Linked DNA regions of Homo sapiens: region 1 is linked to region 2. Evidence: promoter capture Hi-C in human tissues and cell types (Jung and others, 2019). All regions are on one chromosome and are shown on one strand. The core of a region is centred on a gene start or on the middle of the fragment in contact, and the rest is flanking DNA. Distances in the headings are between cores, read along the strand shown. Region 1 holds the start of TREH (trehalase). Region 2 holds the start of C2CD2L (C2CD2 like).

Region 1 (6,762 bases), core at 2,883-5,382, 430 kb after region 2:
CTAAAAAAAGAACTGCTGGAGGCCGGGCGTGGTGGCTCATGCCGGTAATCCCAGAACTTTGGGAGGCTGAGGTGGGTGGATCATGAGGTCAGGAGTTCAAGAACAGCCTGGCCAATATGGTGAAACCCCATCTCTACTAAAAATACAAAAATTAGCCGGGTGTGGTGGTGGGCGCCTGTAGTCCCAGTTACTCAGGAGGCTGAGGCAGGAGAATCACTCGAATCCAGGAGGCGGAGGTTGCAGTGAGCCAAGATCATGCCATTGCACTCCAGCCTGGGTGATAGAGCAAGACTTCGTCTCAAAAAAAAAAAAAAAAAACACTACTGGCTGGGCATGGTGGCTCATACCTGTAATCCTAGCACTTTGAGAGGCCAAGGTGGGAGGATTGCTTGAGCCCAGGAGTTTGAGACCAGCCTGCGCAATATAATGAGGTGTTCCCCCAGAACAAAGCCAGTCTGCATAATGGGCAGAAGATCTGAATCACTATAAACCTTGCTTAAAAGAAGACATACAAGTCGCAAACAGGTATATGAAAAGGTGCGCTACATAACTGATCATCAGAGACATGCAAATCAGAACTACAATGAGATATTATCTCACTACGGTTAAAATGGCTTTTATCCAAAAGACAGGCAATAACAAATGCTGGTGAGGATGTGGAGAAAAGGAACCCTCATATACTGTTGGTGAGAATGTAAGTTAGTACAATCACTGTAGAGTCATGTGTTTTTTTAAAGAACATTGGCTGGGCACGTTGGCTCATGCCTGTAATCCTAGCACTTTGGGAGGCCAAGGCGGGTGGATCACCTGAGGCCAGGAGTTCGAGACCAGCCTGGCTAACACGGTGAAAACCCATCTCTACTAAAAATACAAAAAGTAGCTGGGTGTGGTGGTGGGCGCCTGTAATCCCAGCTATTCACGAGGCTGAGGCAGGAGAATCGCTTAAACCTAGGAGGCAGAGGTTGCAGTGAGCCAAGATCATGCCACTGCACTCCAGCCTGGGCAACACAGCGAGACTCCATCTCAAAAAAAAAAAAAAAGATGTTTAATTTTATGTGTCAACATGGCTAGGCAAAGGTATCCAGATAGTTGGTCAAGCATTATTCTAGATGTTTCTGTGAAGATATTTTTTAGATGAAAATAACATTTAAATTTGTAGACTTTGAGTAAAGCAGGTTACCCTCCCTAACTTGGATGGGCCTTATCCAATCAGTTGAAGACTTTAATTTGAAAAAGACTGACCTCCCCAGAAGAAGAAGGAATTCTCTCAGCATGCTGCCTTCAGACTTGAACTGCAGCTTCTTCCCTGTTTCTCCAGCCTGCCAGCCTACCCTAGAGATTTTGGACTTGCCAGCTACCTCTCAAACTCTCTCTCTCTACCCCCATCCCCCATATATGTATTGTTTCTGCCTAATACGGTCCAGGACCAGATGGCTTCATTGGTAAATTCTACCAAACATTTAAAGAATTAACAATCCTTCTCAAACACTTCCACAAATAGAAGAGGGGCATATTTCCTAACTCATGCTATGAGGCTAACATTACCCTGATATTAAAACCAGATAAAGACATCACAAGAGGGCTGGGCATGGTGGCTCACACTTGGGGAGAAACACTTTGGGAGGCCAAGGCGGGAGGATCACTTGAGGCCAGGAGTTCAAGACCAGCCTGGGCGACACAGTCAGATGTAGTCTCTACAAAAAAATTTAAAAATTACCCAGGCGTGGTGGCATGCACCTGTAGTCCTGGCTACTCAGAAGGTTGAGGCCAGATGACCACTTGAGCCCCAGGAAGTCGAGGTTGTGGTGAGCTGTGTTCATGCCACTGTATTCCAGCCTGCTGGGTGATGGAGCAAGACTATGTGTCCAAAAAAAAAAAAAAACAAAACAAAACAAGGAAAGAAAATTACAGTCAAATATGCTCTATACATATTGATGCAAAATTCCTCAAAAAAATACTCGCAAGCCAAAACCAACAGTTTATTAAAAGGATTAGACATCATGACCAAGTGAGATTTATCCAAAGAATGCAAGGGTGGTTGCACAGCATTGTGAATGTAATAAAAGGAAATTGAATTGTACACTTAAAAATTGTTGACCAGGCATGGTGGCTCACACCTGTAATCCCAATACATTGGGAGGATGAGGCAGGAGGATTGCTTGAGCTCAGGAGTTCCACACCAGCCTGGACAACATAGGGAGACCCAATCTCTAAAAAAAAAAAAATTATTTTTAATTTAAAAATTAGTTGGGCGTGGTGGCATGTGCCTGTGGTCCCAGCTGCTCAGGAGGCTGAGGTGGGAGAATCCCTTAAACCTGAGAGATCAAGGCTGCAGTGAGCTGTGATGGAGCCACTGCATGCCAGCCTGGGCAACAGAGCGAGACCCTGTCTCAAAAAACAAAGCAAACAAAAAAAACAATGCCAGCTGCCCACATTACTGGGTGGAGCTATCTGAACCTTTACTAGTTCAGAGTGGTGCCTGATTCATGAGTCATTTCTTTGCTTGAATAAATGGTTAAATTTAATTTGTCTAAGGTTTTTCTTTTTAATAGCAGTAAACACTGCTCAGGTGCCACAACTGACATCCTTAACTGCAAACCTAAGTCCTTCAGGAGAGGTCATGCCTATCATTAAACTCCATGTGCCTTGCCCACCCCCTGTCCCCTGTCCCTTCAGCTCACCTTCCATATGTTGAGGGGATGAGCCTCCTAAAGTAACCGAATCTGCTTTTTTTTTTTTTTTTTTTTTTTTGAGACAGAGACTTACTCTGTCGCCCAGGCTGGAGTGCAGTGGCATGATCTCGGCTCACTACAACCTCTGTCTCCCGAGTTCAAGCGATTCTCCCACCTCAGCCTCCTGAGGAGCTGGGATTACAGGTACCCGCCATCATGCCCAGCTAATTTTTGTATTTTTGTAGAGACGGGGTTTCACCATGTTGGCCAGGCTGGTCTTGAACTCCTGACCTCAGGTGATCCACCCGCCTCGGCCTCCCAAAGTGGTGGGATTACAGGCATGAGCCACTGCACCCAGCCTGAATCTGCTTCTTAAGCTCACAAACTTCTCTGCTGGTTCCACTTTGGGGAATTACAAGGAATTACATTCCTTGGCTTGGCAAAGACCATTTCCAGACTGGTGCCAACATGTTCCTCCAGTCTATCTCAAAACCCTTCCCTGCATGAACACCAAGTTCTCTGCAGCTAGGCTGAGGGGTTTGCTCTTCTCTTCACATGCTCTGCATACATTGTAGTGGTCTCCAGCCCATTTCCCTTGGCAAACTCCTATGCGGTCATCAAGACTCATTAGGACTGGCGCAGTGGCTCACGCCTGTAATCCCAGCACTTTGGGAGGCCAAGGCGAGCAGATCATGAGGTCAAGAGATTGAGACCATCCTGGCCAACACAGTGAAACCCCGTCTCTACTAAAAATACAAAAATTAGCTGGGCGTGGTGGCGGGCACCTGTAGTCCCAGCTATTCAGGATGCTGAGGCAGGAGAATTGCTTGAACCCGGGAGGCGGAGGTGGCAGTGAGCTGAGATCACGCCACTGCACTCCAGCCTAGCGACAGAGTGAGACTCAGTCTCAAAAAAAAAAAAAAAAAGACTCATTACAAATGACACACTATTGTGGGTCTCCCTTAGTCCTCCCCAGACAGAATGGTTCTACTGTCCTGTGCTTCCGCTGTATCTCTTGCAGATAACAGTGAGAGGCCCTGAATTTCACACCACACCAGGGACAGGATCTTGAGCCATTCCATTTGAAATGTTAAGGGAAATGGTAACTCTCTGAGGTTGGTGGTCTTGGGGCCACCCAAGGAACCTGGCATCCAGGTTACAGGTGTGTGGCCTCGACTGTGTCCCTGGCCTTTGGGTGCCCACTCCCCACCCCCACCACCATGCTCTGAGGGAAGGGCCTGAGCCATTGGCACCAGCTGAGACTGTGAAATAGAAGAGGCAAAGTAGAAGCAAGGGAGGTGGCCACTGTGCCCTGAGAGCAGGAGGGGCAAGCGGGCCACACACAGACCAAGCACACGTCCCCTCAGGTGGCCACGCCTCAAAGGCTGGACTTTGGCCGACTTGGACAGGCAGGTGAGCCAGGCTGTGCCCAGCAAGCCGAAGGTGCCTGGGCTTGCTCATTCAGTCACAGTCACAGCCACCATGCCAGGGAGGACCTGGGAGCTGTGCCTGCTACTGCTGCTGGGGCTGGGACTGGGGTCCCAGGAGGCCCTACCCCCACCCTGTGAGAGGTAGGGGTGTGGGGAAGGCAGCAGGGGAGGATGGCAATAAGAGGGAGGCTGGGATGAGATCTCAAGCTCTGGGGTCGGTACTTCAGAGGGAAAGGAAGAGATTATAAAGGAAGGAAAGAGTAGGGAAGAGAAGAAAATGAGAATTCCTATGTAGCAGGCTCTGTGCTGGGCACTGCACCTGCAGTCCGTTTTTTTTGTTGTTGTTGTTAGAGTCTTGCTCGGTCGTCCAGATGGAGTACAGTGGCACCATCTCCACTCACTGCAGCCTAGACCTCCCGGGTTCGAGAGATTCTCGTGCCTCAGCCTCCTGAGTAGCTGGAATCACAGGCATGCACCACCACGCCCAGCCTGTCATTGATTTTTACCAAAATTTTCCACCGTTGGAAGGGACATTAGGCTTGGCGACTGTGCTGGGAATACAAGCGTGAGCCACCGCCCCCTGTCGGGACCTGCAGTCCTGATACCAGACGCAGCTGCCAGAGCCTGGCCTGAGGTCCAAGAGCCTGCTGGCCAGAGCCCGCCCTCCCTTCCTCTCCTCCTCCAAGCTGCCCCTTGAACTGTGCAGGCCTCTTCTCAGGATTGTTCTAGCAAACTTTCTGCTCCAGCTTCCTAGTCTGGGTGTGAGAGGCAGCCTAAGGGCCTGAAGACAGCACTTGGGCTTGAGCCCTGACCCTCATATTCTCTCTGTGACCCAGGGCAGGTCAAGGCTCTTTCCTGAGCCTGAGTTTCCATCACCAGGGACAGAGATGAGTGACCCTGTCCTGTCTCCTGGACTCAGGCGATGTCCACCCTTCGTTCCACATGGATTTATGGAGCTGTGGCCACATCAGCCACTTTACCAGCTCCTGCAAGAACAATAATAATAGAAGAAAAACAGCTGGGCACGGTGGCTCATGCCTGTAATCCCAGCACTTTGGGAGGCCAAGGTGGGAGCTATCATCTGAGGTCAGGAGTTCGAGACCAGCCTGGCCAACATGGTGAAACCCCATCTCTATGAAAAATACAAAATTAGCCGGGCATGGTGGCGCACGCCTGTAATCCCAGCTACTCGGGAGGCTGAGGCAGGAGAGTCGCTTGAACTTGGGATGTGGAGGTTGCAGTGAGCCAAGATCATGCCATTGCACTCCAGTCGGGGCAACAAGAGCAAAACTCTATCTCAAATAATAATAATAATAATAATAGAAGCAAAACAGTAACAGAAGCACAGTTTGAAGTAGAGAGAAGTTAGGGCCCGCTGGTGTGGGTGAGCAGAGGGTGTGTTAGAGAGGATGGGGAGGGACGGTGTCTCTGAGGAGGTGATGTGTAAGCAGAATTGTGGCAGGAACCATTGCTGAGCTGATCTGGGAGAGGACAGTCCAGGCATGGAAAGGGCCATGCAGAGGCCCTGACGCACTGTTCAGGGATTGGGACGAAGGCCTGTGTGATTGGGGCAGAGTGGGAACAGGTCCGGGGAGAGCGGGGCTCCAGGCAACAAGGTTTGGGCTTGGGTTCCAGTGGTTAGACTAGAGACAGAGACAAGGGGTTCAATAGAGGGTGTGTGTTACAGGGAGAGTTGACAGTGCTTGCCCATGACAATTGTGGAATATAAAGGGGAAAAGTGTACCTGGGATAATTAATAGGTTTTGTCCTGAGCAATTGTAATGAGGACTTCAGAGAGGCTGGGTGGTCCAGTGCTTTGTCAAGCATTAGGCTGTTTGCCAAATGTAGGGGAAGATGACTTTACTGGTGTTCCCTAAGACCAACCTCAGGCCAGTGATTCACTAACACTTCCAAATGGTTATACCATGATTATGGTTTCATTTTTTTTCTTTTTTTGAGACAGAGTCTCGCTCTGTCGCCAGGTTGGAGTGCAGTGGTGCAATCTCGGCTCGCTGCAACCTCCACCTTCTGGGTTCAAGCGATTCTCCTGCCTCAGCCTCCCCAGTAGCTGGGACTACAGGCACCTGCCACCACGCCCAGCTAATTTTTGTATTTTTAGTAGAGACAGAGGTGTTGCCATGTTGGCAAGAATGGTCTCAATCTCTTGTCCTTGTGATCCGCCTGCCTCAGCCTCCCAAAGTGCTGGGATTACAGGCATGAACCACCGTGCCCAGCCTTGATTATGGTTTCTTACAGTGAAAAGATACATGTTAAAGCCATCAAAGGTGAAATATTCTAGGGCCAAGTCCAGGAGAAAATAATCTCAATCTTCCAGTTTTTCCTCTCCCAGTGGATTTATATGGACAGGACTTGATTTTTCCAGCAATAACATGTGACAGCACGCATGAAGTATTGCCAATCACAAAAGCTCACCTGAGTCTTGGTGTCCAGTGTTTTTATTGGAGGTCAGTGATGAAAGCGTGGACTACCTGTGTGGCTGACCTCAGTTACTCACTCTCCAGAGTTCAAACTGATACTGGGCGGCCAAAGGCCCCTGCCACAAATCACATTATTAGCATCAAATATCTGGCATGGCCCAAGGCCCCAGAAAAACAAAGACTTATCAGGCAGCATATTTTGGTAATTTAAATCTCATCTCT
Region 2 (6,400 bases), core at 297-2,796:
TAGAGAACCCTCTGAGCAAGGAGCTGATGGACTGTGAGAGCAAGGAGAGATTGCTGGGTCAGGATGGGAGGGAGCTCCAGAAAAGAGAGACTTCTACCTCCCACCTTATCTCCATCTCATGACCACGCTTCCTGCCCCACTTCCTGGGAGGCCAGATGCCCATGGTGCAATGGGAGGAAGTAGGCTGGACTGGTTTGTGACTGACCCTCAAGGGGCAGTTCCAAGCTCATCTACTGGTAGGGGCACTGTCAATCTGCTCTCCACCTGAACACTCCCCAACCCCCAGTGAACCACAGGCCAGCATGGAGGAGAAGGATGTGTTTGACTGTAGCAGTGAAATTACTGTCGGGTAGGGGGGTGATTCAGGCTCCTTGGGGATCTGCCTGACCACACCAGGGATTTGGGGCATGAAATGTTAAATGGGTGTGGTGGCATGAGAAGCAGGCAAATTCCTTCTGCAGGTGCACCTGTCTCCCATGCCCCAACACAACCAGCACCCAGGCAAGGCGGAAGTGCCCTCAGGCACAGGGATTAGCGTTGCTATGAGAACAGCAACTTGTGCATGGGTTTGGAACCAGAGTACCTTGCCCACAGAAATGGAAGTCTGGGGACCCAGTTGGATTTCTACAACCTCCAGCCTTAGCGGCACCCTTTTCTCTGATCCGGGAGGGGAAGAGAAGCCATAGGGTTCCCCAGTTTATGCCCACCCTCGTCTGGCCTCCTAGCACGAGCAGTCAGTCCCTCCCCTGGAAGGAAAGGCTGAAGGGACCACCCAAGCGCTTGGTCCAACTCACCCCGTTTCTGCAGGCCTGCTCGTTCAGCGCTCGCACCCAAGCCCGCTGCCAGTTCTCCCGGAAAGACTTGAAGGCGAAGAGTGACGCCAGGAGGCCCCGGACTCCTGGCTCCTCGGCGGCGCCAGCCCGAGTCGCCCGCAGCCGCAGCAGCGAGCGCCACACGCCCAGCTCCCGCAGGGAACCCGCGGGTTCCCCGGCTAAGGCGGGTCCCGGGCCCCGGTCCCCGCGGGCCCGCGCCAGCCACAAGCCCCGGGCATATTGCAGCAGCCAGGCGAACACCGTGAGCAGCGAGGCGGCGAAGAGGATCAGCAAGGCCGCCCAGCCCACGTCCCGCTGCCCCCAGCCCGGATCCATGCTCCGCGCGGGCTCCGATCCCGGTCCCGGCTGGGGCTCACCCGCTGCCCCGGGGGAGCATGGCCCGGGCGGGCCGCGGGGAGGAGGTGGGCTCCCCCGGGGCTGGGCGCGCGGGGTCGGGGGCTCTCCGCGGCTGAGTGCCCAGGACTAGTGGGTGCCACAGGGCGAGGAGAGGAGGTCCTCGGGGGTCGCGATGCCGGGGTCTCTGTCTCCGTGGTCCGGGTCTCTCCTAGCTTGGTCAGCAGTCGGACCCGTTAGTCGCCGGCCAGTGCCCGACTCCTCCCACCGCGCGGGCCCCGCCGGACCCTGGAGGGGACTGGTCTGCAGAGACGCTGGGGCTCGCGGGCCGGCACCGGCTCCGGGAGGGCTGCGTGCGCAGAGCTGACACTGACAACACCGCCGGCGCCCCGCCCCCACCCGCCCTTAAAGGAGCCGCACCCGCGCCGGGCGGGGCCAGGACAGCCTGGCGCTCCCTCGCTGGAGGAGGGCGGGAGGGCTAGCAGCGAGCGGAGGAGGTTCCGGGGTTGAAAATAGGCGGGATCTTTGATCACCTCGCCCCATCTTGCAATCGCGGTGCTCCCACACTCAGCTCAAGGCAAGAGTAACTTCACTTACCTAAGATGCTGCCTTTGCTTTCCCCTATGCTTGTTAGATTTCCACAGGTCGGACGCCTGTGAGGTTAAGAAGGAGGTGACCCCTGTGGAAATCACCGCCCCCTTCTCCCAACACCCCCAGACTCAGCGACTTCTAGCTTCCCATTTCCTGGGGGAAGCTAGGCCCAGGGTAAGGAGACGCAGAGCGTCCCTCCCAGATAGAAGTGTCTGGCAGAGGTCCAGCTGATGTCAACAGAGAGAAAGCAGAACCTGAAGCTGGGAGAGGTTGAGAGTAGAACACCGAATTTGAATTCCCCCCACCATCATCACCCTCCTTCCTCTTGGAGCTTGGACCCAGAAACAGCCCCATTAACCTCCTTGCTCGTGTAGGTTTGTTCTGGAGATTCCCAAGCCCAGGCTGTGTGTCTGTTTTTAAAAATAATGTATTTCCATAGTAACAGCTCCTGCCTATGGAGCACGTGTAGAGGGGGTGGTAATGACAAGGGAGCTGGCAATGTAGCACTGGACTATCAATAGATTCAGCCACAAGACCTTGCCACTCTAAGTATGTGATATCCCAACAAGCTCCCAAGAAATGGTGCTGTAGGTACACTGCCCAACCTCTGGCCTCAGAAGCCATCTTTTCCTAGACTCAAGGAGTTGATTCAACCTCTACAGGACTGGGGCTCATCAATGCTTGCTGAGGACAGGGGAAGGAAATACCTGCAAAAGGATTCAAAGGAATCCTGGGGGAATTCACATTCTCCCAAGAGCCCCTTCTTCATACATGTGGGAAGGTCTTTGGCACACAGTCCCTTTCTTAAAGAGGTAGGATGGAAAGGTGTTAAGTATCTTTCTCCCAAACCCAAGTAGTTGTCTGAGGAATGAGCACATGAGAATAAGAGAATAAACAATGCCTTCTGAAGTGTGGGATGGCAGGGCTAGACAGAAACTGACAGGTCAGCAACAGGTTTGTCTGAGCCAGAGGAGGTGGTGGGGTAGCCTGGGCCTCCCTAGATTTCCCTGTAAGGAATGATGGGGAGAGGTGGGGGTGAATGAGGTAACCTCCTGTGGCCCTGCCCATGCATTGTCACTGGACTGCCAAATCAGTGGAGATTCCTAGAGTCTGGGTTTCTAATCTCAAAGGGAGGAGAAGACATGAAATCAAGGGAGGAGAGAACTCAGGGCCAGAACCAGGGATGCAGGAGGAAGCTGTCAGTGGGAAGAGCAGCTAGGGTTTAGGGGAGCAGGTTATGCAGGAAGTTGTCCAGGTAGAAGCTTTCCCTATGAAGACCCTCTTCCCCCAAGAATCCTTCAGGAACCCTCAGACCCCCTAGTGATCTCCATTCTCTGACTTCTTTGATTTATTCCCTCAACTTCTCCACTGAGTGCTTGGTCCTATGCTGCCAGATACTGCTTCACAATTCAGTATCTGAACTGTGAGTCTACCTAGTTACATGAGTCTCCCTAGTTAGTCCTCCCTCTTTTTTTTTTTTTTTTTCTCTTTTCTTGAGACAGAAAGTCACTGTTGCCCAGGCTGGGGTGCAGTAGCGAGATCTTGGCTCACTGCAACCTCCACCTCCCAGGTTTGAGTGATTCTCCTGCCTCAGCCTACCAAGTAGTTGGGACTATAGGCATGCGCCATCATGCCTGGCTAATTTTTGTTATTTTTAGTAGAGACAGGGTTTCACCATGTTGGCCAGGCTGATCTCGAACTCCTGACCTCAGGTGATCCTCCCGCCTCGGCCTCCCAAAGTGCTGGGATTACAGGTGAGAGCCACTGTGCCCAGCCTAGTCCTCCTTCTTTCTTCCATTACTTAGACCTCTAGCACTTACATTCTGCCTTAGAGTCTAGCTGATTGTTTATATGTCTGCTTTTTCCATGCATCAGGAAGCTGCCTAGGGGTGGGAACCATGTCTTAGTCATCTCTTTTCCCTCAAATTCAACCAAGATGCTCCAAATATGCTGAAGTAGACTCCCTGGGGGCAAGCAACTGCAATTATATTAGTTTGTATCCTCCACAGTACTGAAGAGCTTCCTATGCACATAGTAGGGATTAACAAACTTTGTAATTTTAAGAAGTCTAACAGAAAATACTCAAGTATGCTTTGAGAATTTCTATGCCATTTCTGTCTTTTGAAATATCATTCATGCCATACCAGTGGAATGGGAAATCCTGGGGCTTGCTTTTAATTAACAACTTTTTTCTAGACTAAGAGGGGAGAGGTGGGAGGAAAAGGAAAAAGAGTGATTCAGCTGACTGGACAGAGCCACAGATAGAGTCCTGCAAGTATCACAGCCCCAGACTATCCAGAGGGGTCTCATTGTCTTTGTGGCACTATGAAACATTTTTGGGACAGGCTTTGTCTAGCAATCACATTCAGTGGATTGGCCTTGCTCATTGGGAGCCACTCAAGGCTACTTAGAAGAGGTGTGCATCTCAAACACTGTCTGCTCAGTCCAGGGCCACTGACAAGTCAACTGGTCTGTGAATCCTAGGGCCGGCTTCAGCATTCAGGAAAACGCTTTGAACTTTTACCAGGGAAGGCACACAATTTCAAGTGAAGCCAAAAGTCATGTGTTTGTTTCTCCTTCTGATTAGTCTGATCATCAACTGGGACTTTATCATCATGGGAACAAAAATACTCAGATTATCTGACAAGTATCTTAGTAACCATTTTCTGATAGTAACATGTATATGTGGATGATGAATCCTTAGTCTCTCTTGTCTTTGATTACATCCTTCCACCCTCCCCAGGAGGGTGGTGGTAGGGAGGGCTAATGATCTCTGGAGAAGAAAGAGATAAAGCTTCCCAATACCAGGCTGGGAAGGAAGATTTATTAGGATTGGCCTCCTAATAAAAAAGGAAATAGATACAGACTGGCTCTCAGACCTCCAGGGAGTCTCAGTATACTCGTCATCAACAAGATAACTGAATGCTGCCTCCTCTGGGATCCCACAAGCTCCTCCTTTCCACCAGCTTCTGGTGTCTCACTGTCGCTGCCTGTGAAAGGTCCTTCTACTCTTATAATCTACTGAAATGATACTTCTCTTCCTCAAGACCACTTACTCTGGTCACAACTAATTGCTCCCTCCATATGCACCTATTGCCCTCAGTCCTCCTTTCAGCCTCAGCCTCATTATGTGTGATGATGCCTTCCTTGTACACAGATGTCTGTGTTCCTAGCCCCATGGGGACACCCTGTGGAAGAGAAAACACTTGCCTCCCGGGAGTTTCTAGTTTAAAAGGGGCACACGTGCATACACACAACACACACAGAAAAATAATAGCAGTGGGATAAGTACTGAAAATCTGGTGGAATACTAGCAAGTAAATTACGAAAATTTATGTATTTTATACATATCTGGGTTTTTGTTGTTGTTAATTAGAGCCATTTTCAAGTAGAAAAGCCATTTCACATCTGATTTAGTTTGTTTGTTTGTTTGTTTTGAGACAGTTTCCCCTCTGTTGCCCAGGCTGGGATGCAGTGGCATGATCGCGGCTCACTGCAACCTCCTCATCCCAGGTTCAAGCGATCCTCCTGCCTCAGCCTCCTGAGTAGCTGAGATTACAGGCATGTGCCACCACACCCGGCTAATTTTTGTATTTTCAGTAGAGACGGGGTTTCACCGTGTTGGCCAGGCTGGTCTCGAACTCCTGACCTCAAGTGAGCCACCCACCTTCGCCTACCAAAGTGCTGGGATTACAGACGTTAGCCACTGCGCCCGGCCTCACATCTGATTTTGAGGGAAAGAAGAAACTATCTTCGGCTTAAAAACGGTCAACATGACCCTGACTCCTGGAACATGCCATAGAGGGAAGAGTGGACAAAGCGCTAGGCTATTGGAGTCCTTTCCCTAACTCACTGGTGGTGACTTCCTCTCTGACAAATGGAAATCATTTGCCGCCTAAGAGCCTGTCGGGGAATGAAAGGTAATAAAGATGCTGGTGAACTGGCTGGGCGTGGTGGCTCACGCCTGTACTCCCAGCATTTTGGGAGGCCAAGGCGGGCAGATCACCTGAGGTCGGGAGTCCCAAACCAGCCTGACCAACATAGGGAAATCCCGTCTCTACTAAAAATACAAAATTAGCCGGGCGTGGTGGCGCATGCCTGTAATTCCAGCTACTGCCTGTAATCCCAGCTACTCGGGAGGCTGAGGCAGGAGAATCTCTTGAACCTGGGAGGTGGAGGTTTCGGTGAGCCGAGATCGCGCCATTGCACTCCAGCCTGGGCAACAAGAGCGAAACTCTGTCTCAAAAAAAAAAAAAAAAAAAAAAAAAAAAAGCTGGTGAATTGTTGTTTGCAGGGGAACAGGCCAAGCAAAATGCACAGCAACCTGCAGGAGGCCAAGCAAAATGCACAGTGACCTACAGGAAGAAACCTGACTGGGAGTTCCTCAGACTCACAGGAAATCAGTTGTGGGTCTGATTCCTCTCCCTCCTCAGCTCTTTCCAGAGCCTCAGCCTGGAAATCTCCATCTCCTCCTTGTGGGAGCTAGGTACAATGCAGTGATCCACGGCCAAGCTGAAGTCTCGAGTTAAATCCAAGACCTGAGGGTACTCCCAATCCCTCAGTGAAGTGCTGCGCTGGGTTGCCGGGCAACTAACTGCTACAGCTGGGGCAGAAGGTGGGTGGGATGCTGAGAAAAAAATACC

What was found. Contacts are between HindIII fragments. The study calls those that stand out against the background at their distance.
Region 1: the fragment with the promoter of TREH here is called in contact with the fragment with the promoter of C2CD2L in region 2 in 1 of the 25 tissues and cell types used here (aorta).

What each region holds. Positions count from the first base shown.
Region 1 is chr11:118,677,020-118,683,781 of GRCh38, reverse strand. It overlaps TREH (trehalase), which reads left to right and starts at 4,132. Exons shown (of 15, transcript NM_007180.3): 1 at 4,132-4,243. The coding sequence starts at 4,155. RefSeq lists enhancers at 3,581-4,240, 4,241-4,902. The HindIII fragment of the contact is 23,297 bases long and covers 1-6,762 here.
Region 2 is chr11:119,102,490-119,108,889 of GRCh38, reverse strand. C2CD2L (C2CD2 like) reads right to left here and starts at 1,546. Exons shown (of 14, transcript NM_001290474.2): 1 at 795-1,546. The coding sequence starts at 1,148. RefSeq lists silencers at 912-1,191, 1,262-1,711 and enhancers at 5,769-6,400, 6,185-6,400. The HindIII fragment of the contact is 6,279 bases long and covers 1-3,785 here.